Linked DNA regions of Homo sapiens: regions 1, 2, 3 and 5 are each linked to region 4. Evidence: promoter capture Hi-C in human tissues and cell types (Jung and others, 2019). All regions are on one chromosome and are shown on one strand. The core of a region is centred on a gene start or on the middle of the fragment in contact, and the rest is flanking DNA. Distances in the headings are between cores, read along the strand shown.

Region 1 (5,265 bases), core at 2,568-5,067, 320 kb after region 4:
TCCTTAAACATGGGAGAGTGATTTGTCTTTTGTGATATAAGTTGCAACTAGCATTTGTTTGTCTCTTGGTGACCCTGGGGACTGAGCCTCCCCAGGTGTGAGAGAACATCAGCCCTTGCCAGGTGATTGCTTTGTTTTCTGGCCCCTTCTGTGTTGCAGAATGGGACCTTTGTGGTCATGTAGTCTGACCCTGTCTTTGATTCATTGTTATCACACTAATGTTTTCTCTGTGTTGAGAGAATTACTACCCTCTGGCTTTGAATTGCCTGGTATCCAGTCTCTTCCTTGGACATTGTTCCCTTATTCTGAGTGTATGCCTCAACTCGGATTAGATTACAAACAAAAATCAGGCTAACTTGGAATTAAAATAAAAACCAAGCTGGTGCGGTGGTGTGCTCCTGTAGTCCCATCTCACAGGCGAGGCCAAGGTTGGGGGATCACTTGAGCCCAGGAGTTCGAGCTTGTAGTGCTCTATGCTGGTGTCTGAGTAGCCACTGTACTCCAGCCCCAGCAACATGGTGAGACCCTGTCTCTTAAAAATTTGTTTAAATAAAAACCAAACCATTGACTTTATATTTCTTTTTCTTCTTCTTTTTTTTTTTTTTTTTTGAGATGGAATATCCTTCTGTTGCCCAGGCTGGAGTGCATTCTTCTGCCTCAGCCTCCCGAGTAGCTGGGACTACAGGTGCACATCACCATGCCTGGCTAATTTTTGTATTTTTAGTAGAGATGGGGTTTCACCATATTGGCCAGGCTGGTCTCGAACTCCTGACCTTGTAGATCCGCCCGGCTCGGCCTCCCAAAATGCTGGGATGACAGGCGTGAGCACCGTGCCCGGCTCGTTGACTTTATATTTCTAAAGGAAGAATGGACTATGATTTCTTAGGTTTGAATCGTGCTGGAAAGTTGAAAGGAGACAAAACCTTGGACTGCCTGTTGTGTGATCTGCAGGCTGCGGAGGAGCTCAGAACTTGAGGCAACCCAGCGCCACCTAGTGGATATTAAAGGAGGACAGGAATCTGAGTTTTGCTGAAAAAGGCTCCTAAGCTGTTGTTCAGCATGTAGCATTCTTTCCTGACCTACGCATTCTGTTTGTTAGTGCCCAGGATCACATTTCCTCCATCCAAACTCCCACCCTAACAGTCTTGGGTCCTGGAGCTTGCCCCAGGGATGCTGGCAGCTATGTTTCTCTGGCAGGAGTCCAGGCAGTAGTACCCTCCCTGTACCCATCCTTGTCTGGCACTGGCATGGCTCTGCAGCCACCCAGGAGCCCCTCTGGGCTGTGGCCTCTCGTCTGTCCTCATCCCATCAGGTCCATGGTTGGCCTCAAGGGTCTGGTCTGCTGCTGCTCACTCTTCTGCACTGAGAGGAGGAGACTGAGTTTCCATTACTGATCAGGTGACCTAGGACAGAGCGCCTTTCTCCTGATGGTGACTGACTGCCAGATCTGGGGGAATCTCAGAACAGAACTGAAAGACCAGAAGCTGTGAGATTAATGAGGTTGGAGATTGGGGTGGGATTTTTCAAAGGAATTGTTCCTGGTTCTTTTTTTTTTTTTTTTTTTTTTTTTTTTTAATTTAAGGCAGGGTCTCACTCTATTGCCAGGCTGGAGCGCAATCTTGGCTCACTGCAACATCTGTCTCCCAGGCTCAGGTGATCCTTCCATCTCGGCCTCCCGAGTAGCTGGGACTATAGGCACCCGCCCCCACGCCTGAATAGTTTTTGTATTTTTTTGTGGAAATGGGATTTTGCCATGTTACCCTGGCTGATCTTGAATTCCTGGACTCAAGCAATCTACCCACCTTAGCCTCCCAAAGTGCTGGGATTATAGGCGTGAGCCACCATGCCCTGCCCCCAGTTGCTATTTTATTTATTTATTTATTTATTTGTTTGTTTGAGACGGAGTCTTGCTTCGTCACCCAGGCTGGAGTGCAATGGCACAATCTCAGTTCACTGCAACCTCCGTCTCCCGGGCTTAAGTGATTCTCCTGCCTCAGCCTCCTGAGCAGCTGGGATTACGGCGCCTGCCACCAGGCCTGGCTAATTTTTGTATTTTTAGTAGAGATGGAGTTTCACCATGTTGGCCAGCCTGGTCTTGAACTCCTGACCTCGTGATCTGCCAACCTCGACCTCCCAAAGTGCTAGGACTACAGGCGTGAGCCACCACGTCCGGTCCCCAGTTGCTATTTTAATTAAAGCTAGGGTTATGGTGTGGCTGAATAGCCTGGTGGCCCTGTCCTGCAGGACCTAACATCTGTGAATATAGGCTGGGAATGTGAATCGCTCAGGAGGCCACCCCAACACTTGTGCCATACCTAGCACTTGTGTCTCCCTGTGGATCCCAGTGGCCCTCAGTGACAGCATGTCACTCATTCATATGACCATTGAATTGTGTCTCCCAGGAGGGCAGGGATGTCTCTTCACTTTCTGCAACACAGCCCCTACACTCAGCCTGTGGAGGAGCACAGCTCATCCGCTAGGGGTCGACGGAATGTGTGGGTGGGAATAACAGCAGTGTAGATTCCATGGAGTGTGAAGAAGTGATTTGCTGAATGGTTCTCCGAGTTAACAGGACCTGTGGTGGGGAGTGATGTCCAGGGTCTGGCTGGGTAGGTGGTACTTGGTGCGGAGCCTTGCACTGCAAACTGTCGAGAGCAGGGTTGGTCCCATGGACCCTCTGTGAATATCCTGAGTTGTAGTACCCATTTCCATAAAAATGCACCTATATATAAACTTTCGTTTGAAATTTCAAGGTAGGCTGTTTGGAACCCACATAGATCTTTTGGGTTATGCAGCATCCCACTACTTATGGTAGGAAGCCAGGCCCATCCGTGGGACCAGAGGATGCAGAGGTTTGCAGGATAGCTTCACAGGTCCTGTCTAGTTCTAAGGTTAGGAATGGATGCTTTCTCAGATGCTAAAAGCTGAGGGGACTAGACTAAGCTTGTGCACATTTCTGTCTTGGAGATGAACGGCGAGAGTGTGTTTGAAGCCAGCCATTCCCTTTTGCATAGTCATTGTCAGGATGCAGGGCTTTGGCTGGGGCACCTATCTCCTGTCACAGACTGGGCTGGGCCCTCTTGGCTGGCCCAGAGCTGTGTGAGGGGCTGGATAAGTCTTGAGGAGGACAGTGTTTTCCTCCAGAGTGTTTTCAGACCAAACCATTAAACACCTTGCAAATAGAAGTGCAAGCTCGGCAGGAAACCTTTCAGGGCCCAAACCCTGCTTGTGCTAAGGGCTCTTGTCTTAAAGCTGCAGACTTAAAAACAGTGACAAACCTTTCTCTTTCCCCTTGTTAACAGACCTCAGTGCAGCTCCTGGCTTACCCTCTTACTGTGGGGGATTTACAGGCTGGAGGTTGGGCCGGCACCTTTCCAGAGCAGTCATCCCTCTGACATGTTCAGGGAATTTGCCCAGGTCTGCCATGGCCTTTGGGGCACTCCTGGTGGCAGCACTTGTCACCGCTCTAGGGAGCTGGGTTAGTTCATAAAGAAGCACCAGCCTCAGTGCAGAGTGCTCTGAGGGAGAAAGCAGCAGGTGGGTGAGCTGATGCTTGGGAAAATGGAGTAAAGTCCACGTGGAAGTTAGAGGAACCAACATGGCGTGTCTCTGCCAGAGGAGAGGGCCCCATGCCAGTGTACAAACCAGACCACATGACTGCGGCTCCAAGGACAGCTGACACGGTGAGGGCAGCAGAGATGACCAAGCTGGGAAGTCACTAGAAGAACCTTCATGTGACCCTCCTGCCCTCATTTCTCCATACCCATAGCTGGAACTTGTTCCTGGCTTTCCATGAGGTGTGTTCCAAGCCCCTGTTCCTTTCCCTATAACTCTCTCCAGTTTCTAATGCTCCATACAATTTGATTACAATTAGGTGTCTTTTTTTTTAAACGTTAATTTCAATTTTTTTTGAGACAGGGTCTTGCTCTGTCACCCAGGCTGGAGTGCAATGGCGCGATCTCGGCTCACTGCAACCTCCGCCTCCTGGGTTCAAGTGATTCTCCTGCCTCAGCCTACCAAGTAGCTGGGATTACAGGCACCTGCCACCACACCTGGCTAATTTTTTTTTTTTTTTTTGAGATGGAGTTTCACTTTTGTTGCCCAGGCTGGAGTGCAATGGCACGATCTCAGCTCAGTGCAACCTCCGCCTCCGCCTCTACCTCCCAGGTTCAAGTGATTTTCCTGCCTCAGCCTTCCAAGTAGCTGGGATTACAGGCATGCACCACCACGCCCAGCTAATTTTGTACTTTTAATAGAGACGGGGTTTCTCCCTGTTGGTCAGTCTGGTCTCAAACTTCTGACCTCAGGTGATCTGCCCATCTCAGCCTCCCAAAGTGCTGGGATTACAGGTGTGAGCCACGGCACCCGGCCTAATATTTGTATTTTTAGTAGAGACAGGGTTTCACCATGTTGGCCAGGCTGGTCTCGAACTCCTGACCTCAAGTGATCGGCCTGCCTCGGCCTCCCAGGTTTTGGGATTACAGGCGTGAGCCGCCACGCCCGGCCAATTATGTGTCTGTCTAGATGCCGCTGAGTGAAGCCCCCAGCGTGCAGAGCAGCCAAGTTATTTTCTTCCCTGCTGCACTCCAAGTACCTAAACTGGTGCTGGGAGCCACAGCACATGTCATAAGGCCTCACTGTGCTCCTAGATGGAGCAAAGACAGCTACATTTGAAACAATAGGAGCCTCCGTATTCTGATTCTGTGGTGTCCCAACAGCCACTTTGAGCTGCATCCTAAATAGGACAGAAACAGAAAGGCCTTGGGTGGGTGCGGTGGCTCACGCCTGTAATCCTAGCACTTTGAAAAGCCAAGGTGGGAGGATCGCTTGAGCCCAGGAGTTTGAGACCAGCCTAGGCAACATAGACCCTGTCTCTACAAAAAAAAAAAAAAAAAAAAAAAAAAAAATCACCCCAGGCGTGATGTTGCACGTCTGTAGTCCCAGTTACTTGGGAGGTTGTCTTGAGCCTGGGAGATCAAGGCTGCAGTGAGCGGAGATGGCGCCACTGCACTCCAGCCTGAGCAACAGTGAGACCTTGTCTCAGAAAAAAGAAAAAAAAAATAGACCTTTTATTTCCAGTGGCCCTCCTTTCTGACCCAGATGGTGACAGCACAGTGCATGGGGCCACCTCTCGCTTGCCCTTTCTTCCCTGTCGCATACGGATGCCAAGATCCTAACTATTGCTTACTCAAGTTGAGTAACCTGGATCCCCTGGACAAATCTCTCCTGGTGTGATCTTTAATTCCTTAGCGGCTGGGACATTTC
Region 2 (5,668 bases), core at 1,792-4,291, 350 kb after region 4:
TGAGCTACATCCTCCCTGCCTGGGGCTGTGCTGCCAGGCCCTGGGCCCAGGTGCTTATGGGAACCCCTTGCCAAACCCTGGGATATGGGGAGGGGGCAGCTGCCTCAGAAATAGCCTATGACTTCAGGCCACTGGCTGGCCTGGCCCCCTTCTGCCTCTTCCCCAAATAGCCAGGAGCTGGTCATGGGCCCATCCCTGGAGCCCTGCTCCCCGGGCGGTTTCTTCTGATCCTTCCAGGGACTCCCCAAAGCCCAGGGTCTGACCCCTTGGGTGATTACTTGTGGCCTAGAAGCTGAGCTGAGGATTCTGGGGTAGCAGAGGATTCTGGGGTAGCTGTTGGGAACACTCCTCTTACTGGTCAGGGCTCCCATTCCCTCGTGTCCTGGTGTGAGGGCCACAAACCCTGGGTTTGGTCTAGACCCTAACCCTAACCCATTCTCAGACGCCTGCCCACCAGCCCCGGGAGTGCTGGGCAACTGCAGCTGATTTCCATTTCTCCAGGGTGCATGACGCGGGAAGAGAGGGGCCGGGAGCTGGGTTTCCGTATAGGGGGCTCCTCCACCAGGACAGAGAGTAGTAGGGCAGGCAGGAGGCAGAGCACACATATGTGCACACACTTGTCTATGTGGACTGGGTACAATCCTGAGTTTCGTGCGCGTCCGTGTGAAGAGACCACCAAGCAGGCTTTGTGTGAGCAACAAGGCTGTTTATTTCACCTGGGTGCAGGCGGGCTGAGTCCGAAGAAAAGAGAGTCAGGGAAGGGAGATGGGGTGGGACCGTTTTATAGGGTTTGGGCGGGCAGTGGAAAATTACAGTCAAAGGGGGTTGTTCTGTGGCGGGGAGGAGTGGGGGTCACAAGGTGCCTCAGTGGGGGAGCTTCTGAGCCAGGAGAAGGAATTTCACAAGGTAATGTCATCAGTTAAGGCAGGAACCGGCCATTTTCACTTCTTTTGTGATTCTTCACTTGCTTCATCTGGATGTATACGTGCAGGCTTGGGCTCAGAGGCCTGACACTGAGCACACGTGTATCGACCCCCCTCTGATCATCCTTCTGATGACCTCACTCAGGAGGCCAGGGTGGGCTGAGAGCCTGGGGATTCCTGGACACAGGCTCTGAGCTGGGGATTTGCCTGCAGAGGCAGACTGGGGCATGCTCCCCACTGAAGGTGACTCCTGGGTGCGGGGGGTTTCAGCTCTGAGCCAGCTGTGACTGGTGCTCCTGGCAGCTGGCGATGAGTGTCTGGGTCTTGGAGCGGGTCTAGGTGGGGTCTGACAGAGTCCACTGCAGGAGGAGACCTGCTGACACCAGATGCCCAGCTGTGGCATGCTTTGGAGGCAAGCCCAGTCCCCAGCTTTCCAGAGAGGACACCACTTCTGGCCCTGCCAGCCTAGTCTGGGCATCCAGGCCCGATAGGGCTTGCTTATCCCTGGCAGGTCAATAATGCTAAGCATGGAGACTGTCCTGTCTCTGGCTGTGAGCCTGGCATGGGAGGGGTGGCACGTGCAGGCTATCGGAGCACTGAGTGTTGGCACTGGGGCAGGCTCCCTCTCACCCGGTGTCCGTGATGCACTGGCAGTCATCCCCTGGTGGAGTTACCCTCCACCCCCTCCAAAGCTTCCATTGTCTCCTTCTACATGAGAATTGTGTTGATATTGCTTGTGTTCAGAGAGCACCCATTATGTGCAGGCACCGCCCTATCCCGTGGCATGGACAAGGATATGGGCAGGGGAATCTTGCCCAGGCTCTGGGATCTACCGGTAAGTGTACCAGCACCTTTAGTTCAAATTCTCCCCTTTTCTGTCTAGCCAAGGAGCAGGCCATTGTCTGCGTCGGGCCCTCAAGTGCAACAGCTCAGTTTGGAGAGGGCTGGTGCCACCCAGACCCAGAGGATGGCACTGAAGCAGCAGCACCTTGTGACCAGCACAGGGCCTGAAGACACATTTGTCCGAGGCATGGGGGGGCACCCTGTAGAGGGGTCCTTAGGGACCCATGGGACGAAGGGATCCCTGCACCCTCTATCCAGAGGAAGCCTTGGCCACCCACCACTCAGAGCTCCTGGACAGCCCTGCCCGTACTCTGCTGTTGGCACCCCTGTCCCCCACCCTGGGAGGGTCAGCCCACCCAGTGTCAGGAGAGAAATGCTGGGAAACTCTCACCAGCAGCCCCAGCGGAAAGCAGAGTGCCATTTTGAGTCCAGCCCAGATTGTGCAGGGATATGAGCCCACCCCGGGGTGGCCGCTGAGCTCTGAGACAGTGAGAAGAGCCCAGAGTGGACACCAGACACTGCGCTGCCTCTGCTGAGTGGCTTCGGGTGGGGCCGGTGCAGCCTGGCCTGAGTGCCTGCTGGTGGAGCGGGGCTTCTGGGGGTAGGGGCACAGGGCAGGGGGAGGGGTAATGACTGTGGTCCTGAACTGAGTGTGTGCATCGGTGTGTACACGTGTGTGTGTGCACGTGTATGTACCCATGAAAGATGTACATGAGTAGGTGGGTGCATGTGAGCACGTGCATGTGCAGGCGAATGAACGCATGAAGTGGAAGGATGTGGGGACGTGTGTGTATGATTGTGAGTGATCGGTGCACATGAATGTGTGTGAGGGAATGTGAGTGCTTAGTGGGATTGGGTGAGTGTGGGATACAGGACTTGTCAGCGTGGGCCTCTGGAGGAGGTCGGGTTTAGGGGAGCCAGGGATACACACCCATCCTCCGCCCTTTACCCCGTGCCTGCTCTCCCTCCTCACCCTCTTCTCAGCACAAATCAGGGCAGGACAGCTCAAGCCTCAATCTGGAGCCAGGGAGAGGCGGAGCCGCCCAGCGCTGACACTGCGGTCCGCTCCCACCAGGTCCTCCGTCGGGCCGAGGCGCTGGAGACCCCAGCCCCAGGTGTCCCCGCAGGCGGACCCTGGGGAGAAGGGAGCCCGGCGGCCTTCCGGGAGGAGGTGACTTGGGCCGGGCAGGCGGGCGGCGCGCATTCCTGAGCTCTGAGTCAGCGCGACCGCCCCGCTCCGGCCGGGCCCGCCCCCGGGCGCACGCCCCTCGCTCCAGGGCATTCCCGGGCGGGCCGGACCGGCGGGCGGGCGGGGACTCGGCGCGGGCCCTCCCGGCCAGCGGCGGCAGCCTCCTCCCCGGCGCCCTCAGGACCCCCCAGAGCCCCCGGCGGCGGCAGTGAGTGAGCGCGGCCGGGAGCGCAGGGCTCCGGGGGCGGGCGGGTTCCGGGGCTGCGTCCGGAGGGCGGGGCGAGTCCTCAGCACCCGGGGCCGGAGCTGCTCAGAGCGGCCGGGGCCGTGTCGGGGCCGGGGCCGGGGCCGGGGAGGGGTCGCGGCGAGGCCCCCCCGGGGCGGCCGGGCTTTTCTTCCTGGAGTTTCCCGAGTCGCCCGCGGAGGCGGCCCAGCCCCGGATTCCTAGCCCGGCGCGCCGCAAAAATAGCCCGTGGCCGGATTAGCAGCCCCAGCGGCCTGGCCGGGCGGGACAGCTCGGCTCCAGCCCCCGCCCAACAGCTGAGGGTCCCAGGAGCGGGAGTCTAGAGTCCGGGGGTGCCCCAGGTTCCTCTGAACTCCCCCCGCTGCATTTTCCTTCCCGGCCACGACCGGCGGGTGGTGTCTCCGAGCTGAAACTCCAGCCCAGGGCGGGATGGTCCCTGTCCCGGCTGCCCTCACCGATGGGAATAGCAGGAGCCGTGGAGCTGGGGGTGGGGGACTGACTCCGCCTTCTGCCCCACGACACTGACTCCCCCATCTGTACACTTCGAAGCTCCAGGGTGGGCTGGGAGCGACTCCCGAAGACAGACTCTCACTCTGTGCGCAGAGGCCAACGGGGACAGGCCTTCTCCCGGCTGGGGTGACAGCCAGACCCCAGATGCTCAGGGCATTGGCAGAGGGCCTGGTTGTCTGTCATGCTGGGGGCATGTTTGTGGGGCTGGGCGGGGAATGGGCAGGGGATCTTCCCTGGCCCCCCAGGGCCTGCTTCCGACCGAGGTGGTCCTGACCAGAGTTTCTTCTGTGTGTGCCGCTTGAGATGGTGAATGTGTGTGTCTGTCCCGGTGGGTGGGGCCTAGGTCTGGAGGCCCTTCTCCTATCCTGGGAACTCCCACCCGCCAACGGGACTTCCTGTTGGAGACCGGGAGAAGATTCAAGGATGAAACTGGCTTTTCAGGTTTGACCCAGCTAGATGCCTGGGCAGTCCCAGGCTCGGTTCTCCTCACCCCTGTGGAGCTAACCCCAACCTCCTAGCCCCGACCCCAAGGGTGGGCAGAAGCTGGGGACCAAGCAGCTGGCTGGGGCTCAAGGGGTCCCTGAGGCGGAGCCCCCTGCCACCAGGGGTCATTCTGGGCAAGCCGGGCCCCTTTTCCTGAGAATGGGGCAGGGGCAAATGGAGTGCATGGGAGTCTGGTGGTGCCAGATTGAAGGGGCCTCAGACCCTTTCCCAGCCCTTCCAAGTAGCTTTCACTGGCTGGGTGGCCTCCGTTGCACAAGCAGGCCCCTCAACCAGCACCCCTCATGAGCTGGCCGGTCCCCACCTTGGGGAGCTGACTTTCTAGGGTGCGCTCTTGGTTTAGGGGGAGTCGTCCAGGTCTCCCCTGCCTTTCAGGGACCATCAGGCCCTCCCCTAGGATCTTCCCAGCTACAGTCCCTGCCCAGGGCACCCCCAGTTGCTCTTGGCTGTGAGGGCCTCCGCCACACCGGCTCCAGTTCCCCCACCTCAGTGTCTGTGCCAGGATCACATTTTGCCCAGTGATTGGATTCCTTGGCTTCTGCCTTTTTTTCTGAGTTGGACGATTTTGGGGGTGAGTCCTTCCTTCTTCAACTGAGATGCCCCTGATGGAGCAGGTGGCAAGGGGTCTTAGAAGGGTCTGACAGCCGTCCACAGCCACAAGGCTGAAGAACCCAGGTGGTCTGCCTTGTCTTCTGGGGGTCTGCAGACAGGGTCCCTTCCACTGCAGCTCCTGGGCAGACCTGGCCCAAGGCTTTGAGCTCCCTTATAGGCCCTGGGACCTTAGGCAGTGATGGGCTTCTCTGAGCCTCAGTTTCCTTATCTGTAAGATGGATACAGAGGACCCCTCCCAGGGGTTAGACAGACCAGTGTGATCAGTCAGGATCTGGTTTGAGGAAGCTGAGCCAGGCTGCTGAGGACCGAAGCCATTTCTGCTCTGACTTGGTTTCCCTCCTGTGGCCTCTCTAGTCCTATCCTGCTTCTGGTGGGTCCTGGGAGGGGGTTGCAGGGTTGCTGAGCCCAAGGGTGCCTGGGCACCTGGGTGCATGTGTGTAGGGTCAGTCAGGGACACCTCTGGAGGGCTCTGACTGGTGACTGGGCTGCCCATCTGTCCTCTGGCCAGACGTGTGCAGGGGATGTGGGCCTCTCCCACCTGCAGCCTGGGGAGGGTGTTTTCGCCTAACTCCTGAGACCCAGCTAGACTCCAGACTGGGGACTAGCAGTGACCAGCATACCAGGCAGTTTACCCCCAGAATCTAGTGTAGCTAAGTCCTTGCTGCCATCCCCTTTCTGACTGTGTGGCCTGGACAGGTGCCCTGAGCTGCACTTGGTGTCCCCTGATTCCTGGGTGTGTCTGCCATGTCAGCCCCTGTCAGACCCAACTGAGTCAGGGGTTTAGCTCTGGTGACCCCTGTGCCACATTTGCTAGCTGAGCCTTGGGGCAGTGCCCCCCCCCCTCCT
Region 3 (5,030 bases), core at 1-2,500, 370 kb after region 4:
AATACAAAAAATTAGCCGGGCGTGGTGGCGCGTGCCTGTAGTGAACCCGGGAGGGGGAGGTTGCAGTGAGTCGAGATGGCACCACTACACTCCAGCCTGGCAACGGACCAAGACTCAGTCTCAAATAAATAAATAAATAAATAAAAAGACAGTATCGTCCCAAAGCATGATACTGACGCTTTGACACATGATTGACGCTTGAGGCAAATGGAACAATCAGTACTACTAATCTTGCTCTTATTTAAAACTAAATTTTTCTTTTACCGTAGGCTCTTTTTTTGCCTCAACTTTGACTTTTAAAGGTATTACAGGCCAGGCGGGTGGCTCACACCTAAATCCCAGCATTTTGGGAGGCCGAGGCAGGAGGATCGCCTGAGCCCAGGAGTTTCAGATCAGCCTGGGCAACATAGTGAGACTCCCTCTGTACAAAATATTTAAAAATTAGCCGGGTGTGGTAGCGCGCACCTGTGGTCCCAATTACTCGGGAGGCTGAGGTGGGAGGACGCCGCTGCACTCCAGCCCGGGCAACGCAGCAAGACCCTGTCCCCCGAGCCCCCTAAATACAATTACATTAAAATGTCATTTGATGTCACTCACTAATGAGGTTTTTGGTTCCTCTTTAAGCTTCGCGCCCCAGGCGAGTGCGCCCGGTCAAGGTTAAAACCCTCGTTTACGCCCAGAGGCGCCTTCCTCAGCCTTGGGCCGCAGTCTCCCACCAGCACCTTCGGAGGCTGCCGGCGCCCGGATGCCCGGACCCCGGGGAACGACTCCCGCGCCCCCAGCCCCCGCCCGCACACACCTGGATCGGCAGATCGCAGAGCAGCGGGTCCTGCACCACCATAGCCAGACCCTCCTGGAACACGTCCATGGCCTCGGAGTGCGGCAGCGCCTCTTCTTCGTCCTCATCTTCCTCTTGCGCCTCGGGCCCACCCGCGGCCTCCGTCTCCTCCAGGGCCGCCCCTCTCAGCCGGGCTCTGCCCGCACTGCCAGCCCGCACTAGGGAGGCCAAGCGCGCACGCGCAGGAACTGCGGCCCGCCCCAGCGAGGCCGCCCAGCCACTGGCGCGCCGGGGGGGGTGGGGCGGCTGCAGTGACCAATGACAAGTGCGAGACAGCCTGCAGCAGGGCCGGGAGCGCAGAATCGCCCTGTCTATTGGTTGGTTGGTGTGGCGGGAAGGCTGCCAGGACCAATGTGAGCTCGAGGCGGGCGGCGCATCGGCGCTGAGCGGCAGTGGGAGCTGCCGGGAGTTGGAGCCTGCGGAGTTCGAGACCATGCTGCTGTTCTGCCCCGGCTGCGGGAACGGGCTGATCGTGGAGGAGGGACAACGCTGCCACCGCTTCGCCTGCAACACGTGCCCCTACGTGCACAACATCACCCGCAAGGTGGGACCCGAAGGCCGGCGCTGGGCGCGGGCGACTCTCGCAGGCCTTCCGCGTCCTCCGACTGCTGCTCCATCGCCGCCAGCCCCGGCGTCTGCCTCTGTCCGCTCTTTCTCGCGCCCCTTTCTGGTCTGCAGCAGATCTGTGGGCTCTACTTTCCAATACACTCAGAAAGCCCCACCGTTTCCCACCGCCTTGGGTTCCTGCTCCCACGCTCGCGCCCTTCTCTGCGTTCACAGCGGCGGCCACGGTGATTTCCTTAAAGCTGAGGCACGCAGGTCCGTGCTGTGCGCAGAAACCTTCGGCTCTTCTCCAGCTCACGCAGACGAAAAGCCGGAGTTCTCCCAGGGCCTACCAGGTTCCGACACTGACTCCCTCCCCTGCGTGCGTCTCCGATTTCAAGTCCTAATGCCCTTCCTGTTGCCCTTTGCCGCATCAACACCGCCTCCTGGACGATCTCTCATCGTGCTCATGGTGCTAGCAGGGCCTTTGCACTTGCTGTTGCTCAGTTCACTCTTCCCCTAGATCGCCACCTTACTCATTGGTCTTGTCTTTACCGTATTTTAAATTTCAGCCCCTCCTTCCAATTTATTCTCCTTCCCTTTGTAATTGTTTCCATAGGGCTTATTACCTTCTAATATATTATGTAATGTATTGTGTGCTTTCTTTATTTTTTTTTATTGTTTTTTTTTTTTTTTTTTTTTTTTTTTTTTGAGACGGAGTCCCGCTCTGTCGCCCAGGCTGGAGTGCAGTGGCGCGATCTCGGCTCACTGCAAGCTCTGCCTCCCGGGTTCACGCCACTCTCCTGCCTCAGCCTCCCAATTAGCTGGGACTACAGGCGTCCGCCACCACCCCTGGCTGATTTTTTTGTATTTTTAGTAGAGATGGGGTTTCACCGTGTGTTAGCCAGGACGGTCTCCTGACCTCGTGATCTGCCCGCCTCGGCCTCCCAAAGTGCTGGGATTACAGGCGTGAGCCACCGCGCCCGACCTTTTTTTTTTTTTTTTTTTTTTTTTTTTTTTTTTTTTTTTTGAGACAGAGTCTCGCTCTGTTTCCCAGGCTGGAGTGCAATGGCGTAATCTCGGCTCACTGCAACCTCTGCCTCCCGGGTTCAAGCAATTCTTCTGCCTCGGCTTCCCGAGTAGCTGGAATTACAGGCGCCTGCCACCATCCCCGGCTAATTTTTGTATTTTTAGTAAAGACGGGGTTTCACCGCGCTGGCCAGGCTGGTCTCGAACTCCCAACCTCAGGTGATCCGCTTGCCTTGGCCTCCCAAAGTGCTGGGATTATAGGCGTGAGCCACCACGCCTGGCCAGAATACCTTTACTTTTTAGCAGTTAGAATATGTTGGTGCTACGTCAGTCTTAATGTTTGCATGCTACTCCAGTTTGTACTGTGTTGTGGGAGTTTGGAGTTTGAAACTACGGGAAGAGTGAACTCTTTGTTTTTTTTTTTTTTTGAGATGGAGTCTTGCTCCGTAGCCCAGGCTGGAGTGCAGTGGTGTGATCTCGGCTCACTGCAAGCTCCGCCTCCCAGGTTCACACCATTCTCCTGCCTCAGCCTCCTGAGTAGCTGGGACTACAGGCGCCCGCCAACACGCCGGGCTAATTTTTTGTATTTTTAGTAGAGACAGGGTTTCACCGTGTTAGCCAGGATGGTCTCGATCTCTTGACCTCGTGATCCGCCCGTCTTGGCCTCCCAAAGTGCTGGGATTACAGGTGTCAGCCACCACGCCCAGCCGAGTGAACTCTTATGTAATCCTGAAATTTAAGGTTTGGCAGCCCAGGTTTGCGCTATTCAGTTACTTGGAGTCTGAAGTGTTGTTTTTGTTAGGTAACAAATCGGAAGTACCCAAAACTGAAAGAAGTGGATGATGTGCTTGGTGGAGCAGCTGCCTGGGAGAATGTTGACTCTACTGCAGGTAAGAGGGAAAACTGTTTCTGTTGCTAAACTGTGGATAATTATGAGGCTGTTGATGCCACTGCTTGGCAGAGTCTATGATGTCATATAAATGATGTAGGTTTCTAAAAATAGAAAATGGTTCTTGAATAATTTATTTGTATTTGTTACTGTTTAATAATCTGTCAGACAAGCAATATTTGTGCCAGCCTTGGAGTCATACAGGCCCGGGTCAGATTCTCAGGGCAACCTTGTATTGTTGTAGGACCTTCCTTGGGTCTCTTGACTTCTCTGGGGCTAATCCATATTCGTAGACCGCGAGAGCATAAAGTGAATTATACCGTGCTTGGTATATAAGAGGCACTCAACAGGTGATAGCTTTGATAATGGCAATGATGAGTAGATTAATAAAAATAAGAGTCTAAGGAAAAAAGTATGTTCTTTCTGTTTGATATGGTTTGGCTGTGTCTCCACCCTAATCTCATCTTGAATTATAGTTTCCGTAATCCCCAGGTGTCCTGGGAGGGGCCCAGTGGGAGGTAATTGAATCATGGGAGCGGTTTCCCCCCATGCTGTTCTCCTGATAGTGAGTGAGTTCTCACAAGATCAGATCGTTTTATAAGCGTTTGCGTTTCCCCTGCTCGCACTCATTCTGTCTCCTGCTGCTCTGTGAAGAGGTTCCTTTCGCCATGATTGTAGGTTTCCTGAGGCATCCCCAGCCACGCAGAACTGTGAGTAAATTAGACCTCTTTTCTTGGCTGGGTGTCGTGGCTCACGCCTGTAAATCCCAGCAGTTTGGGAGGCCAAGGTAGGCAGATCACTTGAGGTCAGGAGTTCCAGACCAGCCTGGCCCGCATGGTGAAACCCTGTCTCTATTAAAGATAAAATAATTAGCCGGGTGTGGTGGCGCTCGCCTGTAGACCCAACTGCTCAGGAGGCTGAGGTACGAGAATTGCTTGAACCCAGGAGGCAGAGGTTGCAGTGAGCCGAGATCACACTACTGCACTCTAGCCTCGGTGACAAGAGTGAGACTCTGTCTCAAAACAAACAAAACCCCTTTTGTCTATATAAATTACCCAGTCTCAGGTATTCATAGCAGTGTGAGAACGGACTAATACACGCTTCTAATATAGATTTTTAGAAGTTAATACCAGTGAGCATTAAACTGCAGATTGGGTAAAATACATGTTTATTGCATGTCTGGTAGACATAGATGTGGCCAGGAGAGGAAAGGGGAAGACGTAAATGTAAGTTATATTGAGAGGTGAGAGAGATAACTGATGGTTAGTACTGTGGTTTTCCCCCTATAAAAGAACATATAGGCTGGGTGTGGTGGCTCACGCCTGCAATCTCAGCACTTTGGGAGGCCGAGGCGGGCGGATCACCTGAGGTCAGGAGTTCGAGACCAGCCTGGCTAACACGGTGAAACCCCATTTCTGCTAAAAATACAAAAAATTAGCCAGGCGTGGTGGCAGCACCTGTAATCCCAGCTACTCGGGAGGCTGAGACAGGAGAATCGCTTGAACCCGGGAAGTGGAGGTTGCAGTGAGCCAAGATTGCATCATTGCACTCCAGCCTGGGCAACAAGAACGAAACTCTGTCAAAAAAAAGAACATACAAATCTGCTATGTGAAAAAGTTAGCAGCTGGCACGGTGGCTCACACCTATAATCCCAGCATTTTGGGAGGCCAATGTGGGCGGATCACGAGGTCAAGACATCGAGACCATCCTGGCCAACATGGTGAAACCCCG
Region 4 (5,773 bases), core at 1-2,500:
AGCGCAATTCAACCAGAAATCCAGGGCCGAAGTGGTGAATAAGCAGAAAAAGCAGGACCGTCAGGTCTTGACAGTGCCTTTCCCGACTCCAGGGGCAGCGTCGACCGGTCCCACATCAACCCCGCCGGCCAGCGCGCACCTGCCCAGTTCCCACGCCCCGGCCCGGGCCGCTCCGTACCTGCTCTGCCCCGTAGACCGTAGCAAACTGGATGAAGTCCTCGATGCGGACGAAACCGTCCCCATCCCCGTCCAGGGCATCGAACACGGCTCGGAGGCGGGGGCCGTCCTCCTGACTCCCCACGGGCTCGCTCGGAAGGGGGTGGGTCTGGCTGAGGTCCGAGGGCTGCGGCGGGGACCCGGGACCTTGCTCCAGCGCCAGCTCGCCCGCCGTGGGCGCGGGGAAGGGAGAGAAGACGTCGACCTCGCCCCGCGCTCGGTGGCTGCTGCTGGACCCCTGCAAGCGGAAAGGCGCGCTCTCCGGGCAGCTCGCGGGGCCACACTCCTCGGGCTCCTCAGTCCAGGAGAACAACGGGTCGAGTTCTGGAAGCGGCGCTTCGGAGCGCGGCCCTGGGCCCGGGGCGTCGGGGCTCGCAAGCTGCCCCCGCGGGCCGGAGCGCGGCGGCGGGGCGGACGGCCCGGGGTCTCGCGGGCCTCCCTCCAGCCCCGGGGCCGGCCCGGCGCTCCAACGCGCCCCGCCATCTGCAGCGGCCCCGGGCGCAGGCTCATCCAGGCCCGGGGACTGCGGGTCGGGGCCGCCGACGGGCGCTCCGAGGCGTAGCTCCGCAGGGCCCGGAGCCAGTTGTGCCGCCCCCGGCCCGTCCGGCCCGCCCGGCTCCGGGTCGGGCCCCGGCGGCTCCGAGCCCGGGGGCGAGGCCGGCGGGGCCGACGCCATGCTCCCGAGAGGCTAGTGGTGCGGAAGGGCGCGGGCGGCAGACAAAGGCGCTCAGGGCGCGGCGGCGGGCGCGGGCATCCCCTCGGCGGCGCGGGCGGGCGCGCGCGGGGCGCCCGGGCTGCTGGGGCTGGCGCTCGGGCCCTGCTCTGTCCTCGCCCATCTTCGCACCGCGCCTCAGCTGCCCTCGGCCCGGCGGCGCGGCGGGCGCAGGCCCATGGCGGCGGGGCGGCCTAGGGAGGGCGGCGAGGATCCGGGCGGCGGATGGCGGGGGACGGGGGCCGAGGAGGCCGGGGGACGGGGGCCGAGGAGGCCGGAGGCCGCGGAGCCTGTGAAGCAGGATGAGGAGACTAAGGAGGCTGAGGCGCCTGAGGTACCCGGAGAACTAACGCCGCCGCCGCCCAGGCCCCGCCCCCCGTCGGGCCTGACGTCAGCACGTCCCGGCGGGGTCCCAGCCCCTCGCCGGCTTGCTGTAGAGGCAGGCGCCGGGTGTGTCGCGGCAGTGCAGCGGCCGCGAAGGGGTGTTTTGCTGTATGTCATATTCCTCGTTTCGCCAGAGCGGGGGTCCCGAGCTTCGGGCGCGGGACGCGGGGGTGCTCCGAGGCTGCGAGTGGAGGCGTGACGTGACGTCCCTGGCAAGAGGCGCGCGGAGTCAGGCCTTACTTAGAACGTGTTCCCGCCGCACAGCTACCAGCGGGCGCGACCGCTACCCACGCATGGTGCGGTCGAGTAAACGGCACCGCCTGGCGAGCGAGAGACGCAAAGGGACATAGCCCCCTAGGAGCTGAGCTCTTCGGGGGTAAAGCGTTCTCACGTTGATGAGACCAGGAGGCGGCGCACGCCTGGCTCCGCGGCCCAGGGGTTGCAGGTGCCCCAGGGTTCGCGGGGCGCAGACGCCGCAGAGGGCGACGCCCTGCCCGGGTCCCGCGCGGACCCGGGGGACGCAGGGTCTGACACGGAGTGCGGAGGGGCCCCAGACACGCAGTCCATGTCCCTTGAAACCAGAGGCACGCGCGGCCACGCGCTAGGCCTTTCCCTTAAGCCTGTGACCAAGATCTCCGGGACTCCCAGCGTTGGGACGGGCGCGCTGGCCCACGCCCAAGCGGGAGGATCGCTTGCGCCCAGGAGATTGAGACCAGCCTGAGCACCAAAGCGAGACCTCGTCTCTACAAAAAATAAGACTCAAGAAGACACCCAGGGTGAATCGCCCGTCTGCAGCCAGCCTCCCGAGCACCGTGGCCGCGTCTGACAACTGACCTCTGTGTCTGGGTGTCCCTGTCCTCAGAGGGACACGGGACCTCAGAAAGGACCACAGCCCGGCGGCAGGCATGATGGTGGGAAAGCTAGTTAGGACAGGTGAGGCACTAAATTTAGCCTGTCATAATTTGTATCAGGGAAATGATGAACTTGTATTTTTACACACCATGGGCACCAACACAAGATATGGTTTCGTAAGCAGCTTTGGCAAGAACCAAAGGAACGGAACCTCTGCTTCCAAGTGTACGGTCAGGAGCAGCGTGTTAATTAAGTGAGTCATCTTCCGTGGCAGAATCCCAGGGTACATGGGACCAGACTTCGCGAGGCTGGCATTAGGAAAAGGAATGTGAGGGATCCTCCTCCCCAAACCGTATTCTCATTTTCTTGTAAGAGCTGTACGTGTTCATGAGGAAGATACTGCATTCAAAGAACGAAATCACCAGCAGCTTTGGCAAGAATTCAAATTTGGGCTGATGCCTTCGGCCGGATAAAATTTTCAGAAGCAGTGATAGTGATGTGTCAACCTTTCTAAATAGGGGTGTTAGTGTGGGCGAGGCAGAGACAGCAGGCTCCCTCTGCTTTTATGTGCCGGCGCTGCCAGAGGCAGAAGGCTGGCTTTCTGAGAGCAGGGGCCCGCACGCTCTGTCTGTGCTAGGGCTGGAAAACGTCCATTGCGTGCCCGGCTGGTGTCCTCCATGGAACCACAGCCTGGAAGCCTGCACCTCCCTGCCTGGACCAGTTAGAGGCTGTTCATGAAAGACTAAAGGGACAAGTTCCCGTCTATCCGTCTGCTGTTCAGAGCTACTATCTGTGTCCCCTTTGTAGGCTGTGGGCTGTAGCAGTTCCTTCTTTTCTTTTCTTTTCTTTTTTTTCCCCGAGACAGGGTTTTGCTCTGTTGCCCAGGCTGCAGTGCAGTGGTGCGACCATAGCTCACGGCAGCCTCAACCTCCTAGGCTCAAGAGATCCTCCCACCTTAGGCCAGGTGTGGTAGCTCATGCCTGTAATCCCAGGACTGTGGGAGGCTGAGGCGGGCGGATCACGAGGTCAGAAAATGGAGACCATCCTGGCTAACACGGTGAAACCCCGTCTCTACTAAAAATACAAAAAAACAAAAATTAGCCAGGTGTGGTGGCAGGCACCTGTAGTCCCAGCTATTTGGGAGGCTGAGGCAGGAGAAAGGCGTGAACCCGGGAGGCAGAGCTTGCAGCGAGCCAAGATTGCACCATTGCACTCCAGCCTGGATGATAGAGCAAGACTCCGTCTCCAAAATAAAAAATAAAAATAGAAGAGAGATCCTCCCACCTCAGCCTCTCCAGTAGCTGAGACCACAGATCTGCAGCACCTTATTATCTTTTTTTTTTTTTTGATATGGAGTCTCACTCTGTCGCCCAGGCTGGAGTGCAATGGCGCGATCTCTGGTCACTGCAACCTCCGCCTCCCGGGTTCAAGTGATTCCCCTACCTCAGCCTCCTGAGTAGCTGGGATTACAGGCGTATGCCACCAAGGCCGGCTAATTTTTTGTATTTTTAGTAGAGACCGGGGTTTCACCATGTTGGTCAAGCTGGTCTCAAACTCCTGACCTCAAGTGATCCGCCCACCTCGGCCTCCCAAAGTGCTGGGATTATTGGCATGAGTCACCACACTTGGCCTCAACATGCGTTTTGGAGGGTATAAACATTCAAAGCATAGCCTCCATCTTCTCACTCTGTCCTCACATGTTGGAGAAAGATTGTCTCTTTTGGGCTGGGCGTGGGAGCTCATGCCTGTAATTCCAGCACTTTGGGAGGCCGAGGCGGGTGGATCACGAGGTCAGGAGTTCAAGACCAGCCTGGCCAAGATGGTGAAACCCCGTATCTACTAAAAAATAGAAAATTTAGGCCGGGCGCGGTTGCTCAGCCTATAATCCCAGCACTTTGGGAGGCAAGGTGGGCGGATCACAAGGTCAAGAGATCGAAAACATCCTGGCAAACATGGTGAAACCCTGTCTCTACTAAAAATACAAAAATTAGCCGGGTGTGGTGGCACCCACCTGTAGTCCCAGCTACTCGGGAGCCTGAGGGAGGAGAATCGCTTGAACCTGGGAGGCAGAGGTTGCAGTGAGCGAAGATCGCACCACTGCACTCCAGCCTGGCGACAGAGCGAGACTCCACCTAAAAAATATATGTATATATTAGCCGGCCGTGGTGGCGGGCACCTGTAATCCCAGCTACTCAGGAGGCTGAGGCAAAGAATTGCTTGAACCCGGGAGGTGGAGGTTGCAGTGAGTCAAGATCACACCACTGTACTGCAGCCTGGGTGATGGAGTGAGACTCTGTCTCAAAAAAAAAGAAAAAAAATTATCCGGGGGCGGTGGCGGGTGCGTGTAATCCCAGCTACTCAGGAGGCTGAACAGGGTAATCACTTGAGCCTGGGAGGCAGAGGTTGCAATGAGCTGAGATCCAGCCACTACACTCCAGCCTGGGCAACAGAGCGAGACTATCTCAAAAAAAAAAAAAAGGCGGGCGTAATGGCTCACGCCTGTAATCCCAACACTTTAGGAGGCCAAGGCGGGTGGATAACCTGAGGTCAGGAGTTCGAGACTAGCCTGGCCAACATGGTAAAACCCTGTCTCTACTAAAAATACAAAAACTAGCTGAGCGTGGTGGCGTGTCCTGTAATCCCAGCTACCTGGGAGGCTGAGGCAGGAGAATACTTGAACCCGGGAGGTGGAGGTTGCAGTGAGCCAAGATCCCACCATTGCACTCCAGCCTGGGCAACAAGAGGGAAACTCCATCTCAAGGAAAACAATAAAATAAAAATAAGGCTGGGCACGGTGCCTCACGCCTGTAATCCCAGCACTCTGGGAGACCGATGCGGGTGGATTACCTGAGGTCAGGAGTTCAAGACCAGGCTTGCCATGGTGAAACCCCATCTCTACTAAAAATACAAAAAATTAGCCAGGCATGGTGGTGCATGCCTGTAATCCCAGCTACTTGGGAGGCTGAGGCAGGAGAATCACTAGAACCTGGGAGGCGGAGGTTGCAGTGAATCGAGATTGTGCCATGGCACTCCAGCCTGGGCAGCAAGAGTGAAACTCCGTCTCAAAAAAAGAAAAAAGAAAAAAAAAGACTGTCTCTTCTAATAAGGGCACTGTTCCCATCGTGAGGGCCCCACCTTGCTGACCGTATCTAACCCTAATTATTATTATTATTATTTTTTTTTGAGACGGAGTCTTGCTCTGTCGTCCAGGCTGAAGTGCAATGGCGCCATCTCAGCTCACTGCAATCTCTGCCTCCCGGATTCATGCCATTCTCCTGCCTCAGCCTCCCCAGTAGCTGGGACCACAGGCACCCGCCACCATGCCTGGCTAATTGTTTTGTATTTTTACTAGAGCCGGGGTTTCACCGTGTTAACCAGGATGGTCTCGATCTCCTGAGCTCATGATCCACCCGCCTCGGCATCCCAAAGTGCTGGGATTACAGGCGTGAGCCACCGCGCCCGGCCCTAACCCTAAGTTATACCTCCCAAAGACCTCATCTCCAAATACCATCCCGTTGGCGTTAGGACTCCAATATATAAATTTTGGGGTAGCAACTGGGAAGAGAGAGTTAGAATGGATTTAATGGACAAAATATTCATTTCTAGAAT
Region 5 (5,585 bases), core at 1,173-3,672, 300 kb after region 4:
CCCTGTTTCTCAGCGTGGGGAGTGTGTGATCCTGTTTCTTGTCTGGTAAGTTGCTTAGTCGTGATGGTCAACAGTTAATGCTTAATGGTGGCACTTCTGCTAGACTTTTGTGCAGTTTTTATAAAATAGCCTTGTAACTTTTCATGGTTTTTAAAAAAGTGATATGTTTTTGTTTGGTCTTGATGGTCCTGTTCCCATTTCAGCGAGCCATGTCCTCCAACCGATGAGCAATTGGTTGCAGGGTAAGACCGAGACCTCTCCACCGTCTTTCTGTCTTGATTCCGGCTGCCTTCTCTTCTTGTAATTGTGCTTAATTCCTGATTTCCCTCCATGTTGAAGAGTGACTGATGAGGCACACAGGCGTGGACCTCACTGCCCCAGTTCCCCCATGAATGCCCAGACTTCCCACCACCCCGGCTTTTTCTCTACCCAGTCATTTAGCTATTTCACATTACCTGAGAGGCCAAGGCATGGCTGGCTGGCACCCGGGAGACTTCTGGGACCAGGCATGTCACACAAACCTCCTCTTCCTCCAGGTAGGCACAAGTAGTCCTGTGAGGGTGGCGGGCAAGCAGGAGTGGACTCTGTCATCTCCCTAGTCCACTGCCGCCCTAGAGAGACCTGTGACTGTTGCTCCTTGTTTTTATTTTTTGAGGGGTTTTGTGGGGGCCTCTCCCAAGGGTTGGGCATTAAGTGTGATGCTCAGGCCTAGATGCTATTGAGTGTGCTTAATAGAGGCAGAAATGTTCTCATGGAATTGATATGGTGCTTGTCCAGGAGGGCACGGATGACGGGCGACTCTTCCATTCCCCTTGACAGTGCATCTCCTCTGGGCCTTGGAGGTACACACAGTGTCTGTGAGCTTCCAGCAAGGAGGTGGGTGGGGCGAGCAGAGTTGAGCTCCCCTCCAGGATGTCTTTCCATCCCTTTAGGTGGGTGGGGGGAGCAGAACTGAGCTCCCTTCCAGGATGTCTTTCCATCCCTTTTTTTGTCCAAGCTAGAGAGCAAACCCTACTCCAGAATAGCTCGGCAGTGATAGAAGGTCCTGGCCTGTTTTCTGGCTGGGCTGGTTCATCTTCCTAAATGTGTTTTTCTTGAATTTCCAAGTTATTCCAGGAATCTTCAGTTTTTGTAACAGATGTTTTATTGTGCTGCAGTACATTTATTAGGCCTTTCACCATCAAAATGAGGGAAAAGGATTTTCATAAATGTTGGAAGCCAATAAAACAAAACAACACTTGTTTATGGTTCAGTTTGCTGTTTATAAGTTTTGCCCCACCCCCAATCTCATGAATATAACTCTGTCTTTATGTGTATTACATTACCAGACAGACTATATAAAGTATAAAGCCAGATGGGTGCAGTGGCTCATGCCTGTCATCCCAGCACTTTGGGAGGCCGAGGTGGGCAGATCATGAGGTCAGGAGGTCGAGACCAGCCTGGCCAACGTGGTGAAACCTTGTCTCTACTAAAAAATATGAAAAATTAGCCGGGCTTGGTGGCACGCGCCTGTAATCCCAGATATTTGGGAGGCTGAGGCAGTAGAATCGCTTGAACCCAAGAGGCGGAGGTTTCAGTGAGCCGAGATTGCGCCATTACACTCCAGCCTGGGCGACAGAGCAAGACTCCATCTCAAGGGGGAAAAGAAAAAGCCGCTCAATTGTTTTGTCATGGGGCCGGGCGTGGTGGCTCACGCCTGTCATCCCAGCACTTTGGGAGGCCGAGGCGGGCGGATCACCTGAGGTCAGGAGTTCGAGACCAGCCTGACCAACATGGTGAAACCCCGTCTCTACTAAAAATACAAAAATTAGCTGGGCGTGGTGGCGGGTGCCTCTAATCGCAGCTACTCGGGAGGCTGAGGCAGGAGAATTGCTTGAACTCGGGAGGCGGAGGTTGCAGTGAGCCGAGATTACGTCATTGCACTCCAGCCTGGGGGACAAGAGCAAGACTTCGTCTCAAAAAGAAAAAAAAGCGTTTTGTCATTATATGTTTGTAATATTAAGGTGTGGGGAGTAGATTTCTCTGTGGGCCAGATTTGCTCAGATAAACAATGGCTAACTACCACCCTGCTGGCTGCCTCAGAGGGCTCCATGAACAGCCACTAAGTCAATGTGACTGTTTTTTTTTTTGAGACGGAGTTTCGCTCTGTCACCCAGGCTGGAGTGCAGTGGCACGATCTCCGCTCACTGCAACCTCTGCCGCCCAGGTTCAAGCGATTCTCCTGCCTCAGCCTCCCGACTAGCTGGGACTACAGGCTTCACTGCGCCCGGCTAATTTTTGTATTTTTAGTAGAGACGGGGGTTTCATTATGTTGGCCATGCTGGTCTCGAACTCCTGACCTCGGGTGATCCACCCACTTCAGCCTCCCAAAGTGCTGGGATGACAGGTGTGAGCCACCACGCCTGGCCCAGTGTGCCTTTTTACTTCAGCTCACAGATTTCCAGTTGGCCGTCTCTGCAGACCCTGGCCTCTAGCAGGGAAAGAGCCTTTTATTTGGCTGTTGTGAGGGCGCCTTGAAGTTTAGGTATTTATAAACGCGAACTGGGCTACCACTGCTTGCCTCTGAGAATCCCAGGGACCATCTCACAGCCAAACTAAATTTGGTCCCTGGACTGGTGCCTGAGGGCTGAGGCTGAGACATGGCTGTGACTCTTTATGACAGAGCAGCAGTTTTTAGTGGAGATTTTGGGCTGTCAGAGCAAGGGACCTTTCTGGAGTGGTGGTGGTTATTTTTCTGTTACCTCTGTGTCCCCTGAGTCACTGGGTGGCAGAGTGGAGGGGCACTGTTTAGATAGGATGTGAGGCGTTGGCCCTGGGTCAGTTGCTAGAGCAGAAGTGTTTGGTGGCGTTTTAATACCTCAAACCCTCCTTCAACATTACCATGTCCCACAGATGGGAGTTATAGAACAGAGTGAGCCATTTAGGGTTTTTGAAGAAAGCATATTATGCCTGTGGTGTAAGGCACTTGAATCCTCCATCTCTGCAGGAGAGACCTGCAGTGGGCTGCTGAGGACTTGGCTGTGGGTCCTGCGTTTCCCAGGATAACTCTAACAAGATTGATTTCAGAAGGTCCAACTGCAACCTGACTGGGTTGAGAGGCTATTTCCAAATGGCACAAATAGGTTTGACCAAACCCTCGTATGTGGTTTGTTTGTGAGCCTAGGGTGACTTCGGATGGTTAGAGGGTCGTGCCAGTTCAGGAGGAAGGCTGGAAAACAGTCTGAGCCCCACAGCCCATGATAGACTTGGAAAGAATCATGTAGCTACTTGCCATTTGCTATTACAGAGCTGAGCTACAGTGCAGTTCAAAGCAGGCCTTCCTTTTTCATCACAACATGGAGGAGTTATGTCAGTCTCTCCCATCCCTTCACCAAGAGGGCCTCTGGGGAAGAAGCATGACCAGGTTTGCACCCTAGAATGTCTGTCCTCAGTGGTCTCTTCTAGGACCTTAGGGGTCTCCCTGCCCAGGGGCAGAGTATGGCCCTGCGGAGGCTAGAGCTTCCCCAAGAGAGTGCACCCTCCTGACCTAGATATTAGATATATTTTTCCTGGGTGGAGAGATATGTATGGGACTTCTCTCTCTTCTGGGTCCAGATCAGAGGTAGTACATTTGTGTTTCTAGAGCGGAGGCCCTCAGAGCCCTGGACTCTGAGATAAGAGTCAGCACCACCCACAGCACCCCTGCAGGTGACACTCCCTTATCCAGATCTCCCCAGGCAGGAGGCATCAGCATTGCCAGTAAGGAGACAGAAGGGCACAGATGACCTTGAAAAGGGGAAAAGGGATGCCCTCCCTCCCACACCACAGCTGCACCCACTTCTCCGTGGCACCCAGTTGTGTGCAACCTGGTATTTCTGCCATTTGGAAATAGCTGTGATCACAGTGGGCTTGCACATCTTGCACAAAGCTTCTTCCCTGATAAAAACCGGAAAGTTTAAGTGTTTGGGATAAGGGAACGGATGGGCAGCCATGCTATGAGGAAGGAAGTCAGCGCTCTGCACGCATCCCTGTGCACTGTCCCCTTGCCCTCCACGCGGCTCTTTGGGTGAAGGGCCGCTCTGTGGGTGAAGGGCCTGGGTCCTGGGAGTTGAAGGTGCAGCACAGCAAACCTGAGTGTAACTGGGAGAGGCCCCTCTGCCTGTGAACTTTAAAGAGCAGCTCCGCAGGGCAGTGCCGGCTCCAGCTGATCCTCCCTTTGAAAGCAAACTGCAACTGTTTCTCTCCTGAATTTAATAGAGCATGCCAAAAAATGACAGCATGTGCCTTCAGTCTGTGCTTCTCATGCCTTTTACCTTGTAATTCTGGTGATCTTACATCCATAACCTCTGGGATTGCTACAGAAGGGCAACTGTTAGTAGCTTCCACCAGCAGTCGGGGCAGAGCAACTCCATGAAGGTGCAGTTTACTGAGACCCTTCCGCTCTGGGGCCAGCAGGGCATGGTGCTGTGGTATTTTGTTAACTTATTTTTATTCTACCTCTCTTAAATTTTAAGGTTTTCAGATGTTATTCTGGCAACAATTTTGGCAACCAAGTCTGAAATGTGTGGCCAAAAATTTGAACTGAAGATTGATAATGTGCGATTTGTTGGGCACCCAACACTGCTACAGCATGCTCTGGGGCAGGTATGGCTCTCCCTGGGCAGGTGGGGCTCTCCCTGGGCAGATGTGGCTCTCCTTGGGCAGGTGTGGCTCTCCTTGGGCAGGTGTGGCTCTCCTTGGGCAGGTGTGGCTTCCCCTGGGCAGGTGTGGCTCTCCTTGGGCAGGTGGGGCTCCCCCTGGGTAGATTTGGCTTCCCCTGGGCAGATGTGGCTTCCCCTGGGCAGGTACAGACCCTCTGGGAAGGTGTGGCTCCCCCTGGGCAGGTGTGGCTTCCCCTGGGCAGATGCGTCTGTCCTTGGGCAGGTGGGGTTCTCCCTGGGCATGCACAGACCCTCTGGGCAGATGTGGCTCTCCCTGGGCCGGCAGGCCTGGTCCATTCTGGCTCTGGGGGGCTCAGAACTGAGGCTGACACCAGCTCTGGTGAAGGTACTGGGCAGGAGACCTGATTAGACACTTGGTATGAACTGTGCATCTTCATAAACCCAGAGAGTCCAGTAGAAAAAGAGACAGGTGTTCTTGCCCCTGAAGACAGGTGCTTCAGTCCCTGTCCCTAGCTTTTACAGTCTGCATTCTAGGTCTCTACTGACTGTGGCCCTCCCCTTCATATGTAGGATGTCTGTTTCCAGGGGAGGCCAAGATAGTGAGTTAACTAGCATCGTGAAACCCTTGAATTTTCTACAGTGTGGTGCAAGCATTTCCTCTTATTTATTACAAGACACTCTAGTAGCTAATATTAGTATTATTTAGCACTTATTTTTCTGCTAAACCCTCTCTATATGTTCTCTTGATGAATAGGTGTCATAGCACTGAGGAACTCATCTTGTTAGCAGGATGAAGGGAACTTGTACACCAGAGCCTGCCAGTCAGCTCTCTGCATACAGGCAGGATCAGTGATGGCATTACTAAGATTCTGAAGGGTCGAACACAGTAACGTAGGATTTAGCTACATTTATACAGATCCAGCAATTCTGGGAGGTTCTGTGGTG

Evidence for each region. Contacts are between HindIII fragments. The study calls those that stand out against the background at their distance.
Region 1: a fragment that was not itself captured here is called in contact with the fragment with the promoter of RAB11FIP3 in region 4 in 7 of the 25 tissues and cell types used here (dorsolateral prefrontal cortex, heart right ventricle, liver and 4 more).
Region 2: a contact is called between a fragment that was not itself captured here and the fragment with the promoter of RAB11FIP3 in region 4, in 1 of the 25 tissues and cell types used here (lymphoblastoid cells).
Region 3: the fragment with the promoter of POLR3K here is called in contact with the fragment with the promoter of RAB11FIP3 in region 4 in 1 of the 25 tissues and cell types used here (lymphoblastoid cells).
Region 5: a fragment that was not itself captured here is called in contact with the fragment with the promoter of RAB11FIP3 in region 4 in 2 of the 25 tissues and cell types used here (lymphoblastoid cells and mesenchymal stem cells).

The regions. Positions count from the first base shown.
Region 1 is chr16:102,939-108,203 of GRCh38, reverse strand. All of the region lies in intron 7 of NPRL3 (NPR3 like, GATOR1 complex subunit), which reads left to right. Among named protein-coding and RNA genes, the nearest start is that of MPG, 27 kb to the right of the region's middle. RefSeq lists an enhancer at 1-1,448. The HindIII fragment of the contact is 7,021 bases long and covers 307-5,265 here.
Region 2 is chr16:70,008-75,675 of GRCh38, reverse strand. RHBDF1 (rhomboid 5 homolog 1) reads left to right here and starts at 3,045. Exons shown (of 18, transcript NM_022450.5): 1 at 3,045-3,163. LOC124903617 (a long non-coding RNA gene) reads right to left here and starts at 2,849. Exons shown (of 2, transcript XR_007064932.1): 1 at 2,740-2,849; 2 at 686-1,296. RefSeq lists enhancers at 379-1,196, 1,197-2,013, 2,014-2,831, 4,468-5,285 and silencers at 2,986-3,045, 3,292-3,475. The HindIII fragment of the contact is 4,515 bases long and covers 784-5,298 here.
Region 3 is chr16:49,828-54,857 of GRCh38, reverse strand. POLR3K (RNA polymerase III subunit K) reads left to right here and starts at 1,250. Exons shown (of 3, transcript NM_016310.5): 1 at 1,250-1,382; 2 at 3,213-3,300. The coding sequence starts at 1,272. SNRNP25 (small nuclear ribonucleoprotein U11/U12 subunit 25) reads right to left here and starts at 1,030. Exons shown (of 5, transcript NM_024571.4): 1 at 800-1,030. The coding sequence starts at 841. RefSeq lists silencers at 680-779, 920-1,239 and enhancers at 1,570-1,729, 1,458-1,984. The HindIII fragment of the contact is 23,499 bases long and covers 1-5,030 here.
Region 4 is chr16:421,126-426,898 of GRCh38, reverse strand. RAB11FIP3 (RAB11 family interacting protein 3) reads right to left here and starts at 1,250. Exons shown (of 14, transcript NM_014700.4): 1 at 179-1,250. The coding sequence starts at 892. The HindIII fragment of the contact is 17,968 bases long and covers 1-5,773 here.
Region 5 is chr16:118,164-123,748 of GRCh38, reverse strand. It overlaps NPRL3 (NPR3 like, GATOR1 complex subunit), which reads left to right. Exons shown (of 14, transcript NM_001077350.3): 4 at 4,494-4,623. Among named protein-coding and RNA genes, the nearest start is that of NPRL3, 18 kb to the left of the region's middle. The HindIII fragment of the contact is 8,123 bases long and covers 1-5,585 here.